Linked DNA regions of Homo sapiens: regions 1 and 2 are each linked to region 3. The links are contacts of gene promoters, found by promoter capture Hi-C in blood cells and fetal thymus (Javierre and others, 2016). All regions are on one chromosome and are shown on one strand. The core of a region is centred on a gene start or on the middle of the fragment in contact, and the rest is flanking DNA. Distances in the headings are between cores, read along the strand shown.

Region 1 (2,779 bases), core at 38-2,537, 970 kb before region 3:
AATTTTAGCAAAAGCAAATCCTGTGTACTTGTTTTTCAACTAATCCATCATAGTAAAAGCAGTGACACTCCTGGAGGATAGCTTTATTTAAAAATGCAACTGGCATGCATCACAAAGTCCAACCAAGTTTTCCTTCAGAATACTTTATTTAGCTTCACTCCTTTTATCTCTGCTCACAAAGCTAGGTCAGATTCCAATTTCCAGCCTCCTTGCTAACCTTTCTAATTCTAGCCTCTCTCTTGCTTCCTTGCAATTTATCCTATACTCAGAGCAGTGCTTCTTAATTTTTGGCTCTTTATTGAAATCACCCAGAGAACTTTAAGAAACAAAACAAAGCACTGATGCTTTGATGCCATCCCAGACTTAATTGCTCTGGAGCACAGCCTGGGTGCCAGGATTTTTTCAGAGCTCTCCAGATAACTCTAATACGCAGCCAGAGTTAAGAACTATGGAAATGAATCATCTTCCAAACAACATTTATACCAAATCTTCACAACAGTGGGGTAGCTCCAAATTACCTCGAGTAATCAAATTAAAATTCCTAATCCTGTGCTTTAAGACTCTTTGCCAATTGACTAGAATAGTCCCCTTTCAAAACAGCTTAAATTTATCTCCTTCCTAAAGCTTCTCCAGATTAGTCTCACCTGGCTGCCTGAAGATCACCGTTCCCAGCTCTGAGCATCCCGACTGGCACTGGTTTACAAACCGCTGGACCTCAGTTGATTGTGTACATTATTGTTTTAATCTTGCTTTCATAGATATTTGTCAGAGGCTTTTCTTATAATCTAAATCTTTCCAAAAGTCCCACTGGGTCAACTGTCTCAAACAGAAATGTCTTAGCAGAACTTTCTCCTCTAAACTAGCTGTCTGAAAAAACATTTCCTGATACGATGGCAGTTCTTTTTTTTTTTTTAATCATCACAATTAAAGCCAAACATTATAAGAACTTGAGTTTTGGGGTTGTTTGGTTTTTCCTTAAAAAAGAAAACTATATATCTCAGCATATCTCCTTGACTTTTCTTACCATTATTTGTTTATTTTAGGCATTGGAATTGGGCTTCCACACCCACTTCTCTGCTGAAACTACTATTTCCATCACAATTAACATTTTCATTCATGTGTTCATCCATTCAGTCACTCATTTACTAGTGAAGCATAATGAAAATAAAAAAATTAACAATATCAAGTAGTCCCTACCTAATGGCGAAGAATAATAAGCAAAATATTACATAATAAGTGCTATGCCAGGTGTCTTAATAGTATATGACAGAATTAGTGGGGAAGGTCTTTGCTTAGTGTTCATGCCATTGAACTTCTCTGCAGTGTTTGAGGAGGTTAATCTCTCGTACTCTCACTCTCTAAACCTCTCTTTTCCTTTAACTTCTCTGATACCATACCACCTGGGAGCTCTTTCGACCTCTCTGACTGTTCCATCTCTGACCCTTACTTTGCTGTGTTATCTCCTCCTACTTCCTAAAGAAAAATGTTCCACTAAGAATGAAATAAATTTTTGAGGAGAAACTTAAAAAGAGCAGATAGTACTGTTTATCTTGAGAATCCCAGGGATCCTTAGGACTCTAGCACCAATGCTTCCACATCTGTATCTATTCTCCCTTGAGGCATATTTTCAACTCGCTGTTGAAAATTTCCATCTAGATAAGCTATTCACGGGGTTGCTCCTGCTGGTTTTTCTGGCACCTTCCTTTCCTTTACCTCCTTTTACCATCTCCTGAACAAACACATACTCAAATCCCTTGCAGCCCACTTTCTCAAAATTATAGGAATGGATTCTCTTGTTTATTTGCTTTAGTCCTACAGAGTCTCCTAACTCATCTCCCTGCCTCAGGGCCTCCTTGCCCTGACTGCCAGGTGCCAGTCATTTTATCCCTGTCTCCTTACTGCCTACGGGACCCCATTTACAAGGTCATTCACAATGACAGTCAAAGCTTCCCTGTTTGGATATTCTAGTTAGTCATATCTTGTATCTTTATGTTTCTACCCCTGTTTTTGCCTTCTGCCATCTCTGCTGGCCAAAATCCAAGCATGTGTGCTCATCTCACACCCTCCTTTTCCATGAAACCCTTTCTGCCTCACCTCAAACAGAGGTACAGTAGTCCCCCAGTCCCCCCTTATTCATGGTTTCACTTTCCAAGGTTTCAGTTTTCCTCAGTACAGTATGATAAGATATTTTGAGAAAGAGAGACACTATGTTCACGTAACTTTTATGAAGGTATATTGTTATAATTGTTCTATTTTATTATTAGTTATTGTTAATCTCTTAACGTGCCTAATGTATAAATTAAAAACTTTATCATAGGTATGTATGTCTACAAACCATAGTACATATATATATATATATATATATATATATAAAATATGTACAGTGCAGTACTATCCATGGTTTCAGGTATTCACTGGGGGGCTTGGAATGGATGCCCTCTTGGATAAGAAGGGACTAGTGTAATTGCTCTCCTTTGAACTCCTGTAGCACTTTAATTGCATCTTATGGCTCCTTTCCTATTCTGCTTCATAAAAGCATCATTTATGTTTTCAAATATTTATCTTTGCATTCTTTTTACCGCCACTCAGCCCCATCCCCTTCTTTCTTGCAGGTAAAATCCAGGGTGATGTGTACAGGAATGCCTGTAGCACTTGGCATAGTACTGCACATAGTAGCTGCTCATTTATTGAAACAGATAAACCTGTTAGTTGGTAGACTTCTAAAATTAAATAAAATTAAGTGAAAAATGTTGCTAATTACAATTGAACACTTGTTCCA
Region 2 (3,007 bases), core at 494-2,993, 990 kb before region 3:
GGCTAAAATCATCCAATAGTTTCCCATCACCTACAGAATCAAAATTCCTTAATACAGCATAAGGGCCTTCACATCCTCCTCTGTTAGCTGGCCAGTCCAAACGTCCCCACTTGCCTCTCCTTACAGGGGCCCTTTTATTCCAACCACTCTGGACCATTTGCCATTCCATAGATTCATTGCTTCATACTGCTGTAAATTCATCTTAATTGTCTCAAATGAAGCCTTCCCTGACCCAACCTAGCAGATTTACAATATACAGCACTTACCACATTATACAGTACAGTTGATTCTCATTATTCTGTGTTTGCGAATTTGCCTACTTGCTAAAATTTACTTTTAATCCAATAATCGATACTTACAGAGCTTTTGTGGTCATTAGTGGATATGCAGAGTGGTGAAAAATTTGAGTCACCCAACATTGCACAGTCCCAGCTGAGGTGGAAGAAAGCAACACTCTGCTTTCTTGTTTCGGCTCTCATACTAAAAACAAGTATCCTTTTCATAGTTTATTTTGTGCCACTTTTTTTTTTGCATTTTTCTGTTGTTTGTGATTTCACAAAATGGTCCCCAATCATAGCACTGAAGTGCTATCTAGTGTTTCTTTATCATGAAAAGGCTCTGGTGTGCTTTACAGAAAAATGTACATATTAGACAAGCTTTGTTCAGGCATAAGATATGGTAAGCTTGGCTATGAGTACAATGTTAATGAATCAATAATATATAATAAAGTATCTTTAAAGAGAAATACAGATAAAAAAGGCTATATATTGACCAGTTGATGAACATACTGTGACTAAAGGCTTGCAGGAACCTAACCCTGCATTTCCCCTAGAAGCAACACGGCTCAGCATTTGATAATTCTGCATTTGCAGAGACTTTATACACCATAACTATCTTGAATAATGAGAACTATTTTAATTTACATGTCTATCTCTAACACAAAATTAGTGGGTTCACTGAGGATATGGCATTTTATTTATTTTTGTACTCTAATTCTTAGTATTACTCCAGACACATCACATTTAATAAATACTCATTGGATGAAATTTTAAAATTCTGGCTTCTCATCATTGTAATGTGATTTGCTTTATATAGCTAGACTTTATGGTAAGAGCCCACGTATGTCAAGCTACACACTGCCCCCTATCTCAGTGAGGCCTTGCTCAACTGCATAATGGTCTGAATGTCATCCTCCATTCCTGACCCTGTCCCTCTTTTACAGCCAAAGACTATGCTTTTTAAATTCAAACTTAAAATGACAGTTAAATGGAAAGGTATTTACATTGATTTTTCCTAAGGTCAGTTGGTCCTAATAGACATAGTATACCTCAAAACTATTAGACACACTTCCAGTTAAAGTGGAAGACTGAACACACATGCCTATGTTCCCTCCCTCCTGAGGTCCCACTGAAATGACAAAACAGGTATGTAATTTTAAAAAAGAATAAAACAGCACTAATACTGGAGGGGAGGTGAGACAAAAATAAAAGAGAAAGAGATTAGCAAACCAGAAGTTTAGGAACTGCTTAGAAGTTAGAAAACAGATAAGAAAGGCTTGCTGGTTTGGCAAAGAAGGTACCCTTGAAAATCTGAAAATAATTCTCTCACAAAACATCTAAAAATGCAAAATAAAATACTGAAAACATCCCCTCAAAAAAAAAAAAAAAGTCCCCAAGAATATCCCTGTGAGCCAATATGAAGGGGAAAAAACAAACTAGTAAGTAGGTACTGAAGTTATGACTGCCCTGGGGTGTTTAGGATTTCAGTAACCAGGAGTTCAGAAGCTGCCATTTAGGCCCTGGCCTGTTCAAGATGAAAAATGCAACTTAGACCTTCCCACATGAAGCTGAGACCTTATAGGACTAACCCCTACTTTGTAAGAGTAGTCTAATAAAAACATGCCTGTTGGCCAAGGAAGACAATAAGGAAGTTGGCCTGTCTCAGATTGGACTCCATATTAGCAGAAAAAAATATCACCTGAGAATTAGTAATCACAGCCTACTCTCAAGGATTCAGGGTTCCAAATATACCTACCTGCCTAGTTCAGAACACCCCAAGCAGAGAAACTACGAAGTGGTCTTGGGTCAGTGGCTTCCACAGGTGCCAAAGAAAAGCCTTGGCAAACCTTGGAAAGAATGTGTCCTCTAACTGGGCTGCACAGAATTTCCTCCAATAAAACCCAGCGAAGCAAGAGCACACAATTCAAAAATCATCAAACAGTAACAAAAAGACAGGTAGCTGAAAACACAAGAAAGTAAGACTATCAGGAAAGAAAGCAGGTAAGATTGAAAAATCTTATCATCTAAGACTTTAGAAGTAAGCACAGTTCCTCCCAAGTGGACTTTCTCTGGGCCTCCCTCAAGAAGTCTGTGCGCACTTAAATATTCTTTTATACTAGAGTCAATACTTACTGTGTGAAATTGAAAACATAAACATATGCTTTCTAAGATGTATGTTTTTTAAAATTAGCATACCACCTCTCCCCAGTGAGCATTTGGAAATGTACTAGGCCATTTTTGATTGTCTCAGTAACTGTGGTAGAAAACCAAATATTAAGGGACACTAAACACTGAGTAGTGTTCAGGTCAGGACAATCCTGCATTGCAAAGTATAGTACTGCCAAAAATGCCAGTCATGAATTGAGAACCACTTTACTAATATAACTAAATCTGAAACTACTAACCATGATTAACTCTATGAAGTAAGAGTAGGGATAGAAACCTTTAACTTTCATGGTACATTCATTCTTCCATGCTGATTTTAACTTTGCATGTCATGTAGCATTAATAATTTTAAAAGCTTAATTAAAAATAAATTGATCATAAATAAGTAATGGGATGAGAGAACTATGTTACTCATTAACCAACATAAATTCCTCCCTCCAGGTACACTAGCTTGTTCAGAGCATTAACAATACAGAAATGCATTTGACTGCCCTGAAATTTCTACACTCAGAAAAGTAGTCTCTTCACACACTTAAATATTTCTTAGGTAAAATATCTCCAGA
Region 3 (2,767 bases), core at 124-2,623:
AGAAACATTTTCCTCAAAACAAGTATTTTTGCAACACATTTTAGAGTGAGAAATTATTAATCAGTGAGAAGATGCAGACAGATGTAGAAAAAAGTTGACCCAGGTTAAATATGGTGAAGCCCAGAGGCAGGACTGTAAAATACCTGGATGCCTACTCTGACGAAACAAACACTTAGCGCCTCTAAGGATTCCCAAAGGACACACCTGAGGGGGAGGGGAGAGGTGAATACTTGTACCTCTGAAGCTGATCCACAGAAAAGCAGAGTCATCAATTTCCTAAGAACATTCTCAGCCATCTTAAAACAGCAAAAATTAGGAAGACGGCATATTTTAATGAATCCTTTGGTTAGGTTTAAGATAAAGTGAAGAACACACAACCCAGGATGATTAAACAAACAAAAGCACAAAACTCAAGTCCAGAGGCCACTTCGGTCACTTCAGTCATAGCTAATGAAAGTATCACAAAGGATCTTTTCATCAAATGAAGAACTAATGACGTTATAGGTCTATATTCCTAATTCTAACCACTTACAGGTGTGTGTTTTGATGGATGAGAAAACTCAAGCTTAGAGCCTTTAAGTAACCAAGATCACCAAGGCAGGCAGTGAGAGAAACCCAGGCAGGATTCGAACCCTAGCTGGCTGAGCCATTCTCATTACCGTCACAGTCAACAATCAACACGGCAGTTTAAGTTCATCCTTACCAGTCACCCAGGAGATGAGTTTTGAAGAGGGAGTTTAAAAGGGGCATCTGACTTTCTCTCTCTCCCAAAGTAGAAGAGAACTGAGCTGTCAAAAACAGAAAAAGAAGTGAGTGCGGTGCCGCCCGGGATCTACATCCCGCAGCTCCGGACCAAGCCCGCCCCGCTCGACTCGCGCAGCCCCAGCCACGCTCGGCTCTCCGCCCGAGCCGAGGCGCCGCGGCTGTCAGACGCGGAGGGGCAGAGACGCGGCCCAAAGGAAGGGACAAAGAGCCTTCCCGGCCGCGGCCGGAGGCTGCCGGCCCGTTCCTAAGCCGGGTTTCCGCAGCAGCGGCCCTAGCGGGGCGGGGACCGGGGACGGGGGCGCGGCGGGGGAGGAGCGGCCGGCTAGGCTGAGGGGCGCGCGAGAGGTGCGGGCCCGGCTGGCGGACTCGCCCCTTACTCATTACCTGGCCGTGGGCTTCTCGTCACGGTCGCCGCCGCCACGGAGCTTCTGAGCCGGGGCGACGCAGCGAGAGCTAATAAGCGGGCGTCAGCTGCGTCCCACACTGGCGAAGCAGCCTCCAGATCGAGCTGGAGAAACGCCGGTGGGTGGGAGTTGGGACGAGGTTTGTTCCCAGCTTGTGGAGATTTTACTCCGCTCGTCCCTCGCACTCGGCTTCCGCTCCGCCTCCCTGCCGGCCCTTCCCGCACTCGGGGGCCAGCCGCCCGCGGCGCGCGGCATTGTGGGGGATGTAGTCCCAGAATGAGGAAGCGGCGGCACGTGCTTCCAGCCGCCCTGCACCTACCCTGGGTCAGAACGACGCAGCTGCGCGGCAACCAGAGAGGGCGGCGGGGTCTTCTGTGTTGGAAGATGAGCCCGCCAGAGGCATACCCTCGGCCTTAACTCGCTGCAGGCGCTGGAAGAAGGGCTCTGGCGTCTTGTTCCCGACCCTCCGGTGAGGAACCAACCTCCTAATACTATTGACCTGAGGCTGGGAAAGCTTAGTGATGATTAAGTGTGCTACAGATGAGACTACCCATTATTGAAGCCAAAGGTCCTTAGCCAGTGGAGTGAGGCAAGAAAAATAAAAGGATTGAAGATTAAATAGGAAGAAACAAAATTATTTTTTCATAGATTATGTAATTATGTACGTGGAGGCCGGGCGCCGTTGGCTCATGCCTGTAATCCCAGCAGTTTGTGAGGCCAAGACGGGAGGATCACCTGAGGTCGGGAATTCGAGACCAGCCTGGCCAACATGGTGAAACCCCGTCTCTACTACAGATACGAACTTAGCAGGGCGAGGTGGCGGACGCCTGTAATTCCAGCCTCTCGGGGAGCTGAGGCGGGAGAATTGCTTGAACCCAGGAGGCGGAGGTTGCAGTGAGCTGATATCGCGCCACTGCACTCCAGCCTGGGCAACAAGAGCAGAACTCCGTCTCAAAAAAAAAAAAAAATTGTTTGTGGCACTTCAAAACAATCTGCAGATAAACTGTTAACAATAAAAGTTTTTAACAAGGTTAATAGATACAAAAATCATATTTTAAAAAATCAATATTTATTTATATATGCTAGTAAAAAAGATAATTTTTTTAAAGATACCATTTCCAACAGCTCCAAACAAATATCAAGTACCTAGGAATAAATCGATCAAAGAAATGCAAAACCTGCCTGAAGAAAACATTGGAAGACACTGAAGAAGACCTAAATAAAGATGTAACATGTTCATAAATTGGAAGAGTCAATACTGAAAAATGCCAAGTCTCTCCAAACCTACCTACAGAGCCAGTGCAATTCCCAACAAAATCTCAATAAATTTCTGTGTATGTGTGAGAAACTTGACAAGCTAATTCAAAATGTTATGGAAGAGCAAAGACAAGCATTCATGAGGAAGAGGAGGAAGAAAAAAAAAGAAGAGGAGAAGGAGTGGGAGGAGGAAAACTTGTGCTACCGGATAACAAGCTTTATTATAGACTAGGCACGGTGGCCCATGCCTATGATCTCAGCACTTCGGGAGGCTGAGGCAAGTGGATTGCTTGAGCCTGGAGTTCAAGACCAGCCTGGGCAACATGGCAAAACCCCATCTG

Evidence for each region. Contacts are between HindIII fragments. The CHiCAGO score rates a contact against its expected background, and 5 or more counts as called.
Region 1: a fragment that was not itself captured here is called in contact with the fragment with the promoter of CCDC126 in region 3 in 2 of 17 cell types (total B cells and total CD8 T cells); the score reaches 6.0 in total B cells.
Region 2: a contact is called between a fragment that was not itself captured here and the fragment with the promoter of CCDC126 in region 3, in 1 of 17 cell types (naive CD8 T cells). The highest score is 5.4, in naive CD8 T cells.

What each region holds. Positions count from the first base shown.
Region 1 is chr7:24,567,693-24,570,471 of GRCh38, reverse strand. No RefSeq gene overlaps it. Among named protein-coding and RNA genes, the nearest start is that of PALS2, 4.4 kb to the left of the region's middle. The HindIII fragment of the contact is 1,322 bases long and covers 627-1,948 here.
Region 2 is chr7:24,589,506-24,592,512 of GRCh38, reverse strand. The region is part of intron 1 of PALS2 (protein associated with LIN7 2, MAGUK p55 family member); the gene reads right to left. Among named protein-coding and RNA genes, the nearest start is that of PALS2, 18 kb to the right of the region's middle. The HindIII fragment of the contact is 2,116 bases long and covers 686-2,801 here.
Region 3 is chr7:23,595,988-23,598,754 of GRCh38, reverse strand. It overlaps CCDC126 (coiled-coil domain containing 126), which reads right to left and starts at 1,373. Exons shown (of 4, transcript NM_138771.4): 1 at 1,150-1,373; 2 at 704-788. LOC105375187 (a long non-coding RNA gene) reads left to right here and starts at 1,430. Exons shown (of 2, transcript XR_927098.2): 1 at 1,430-1,638. RefSeq lists a silencer at 892-1,131. The HindIII fragment of the contact is 1,118 bases long and covers 568-1,685 here.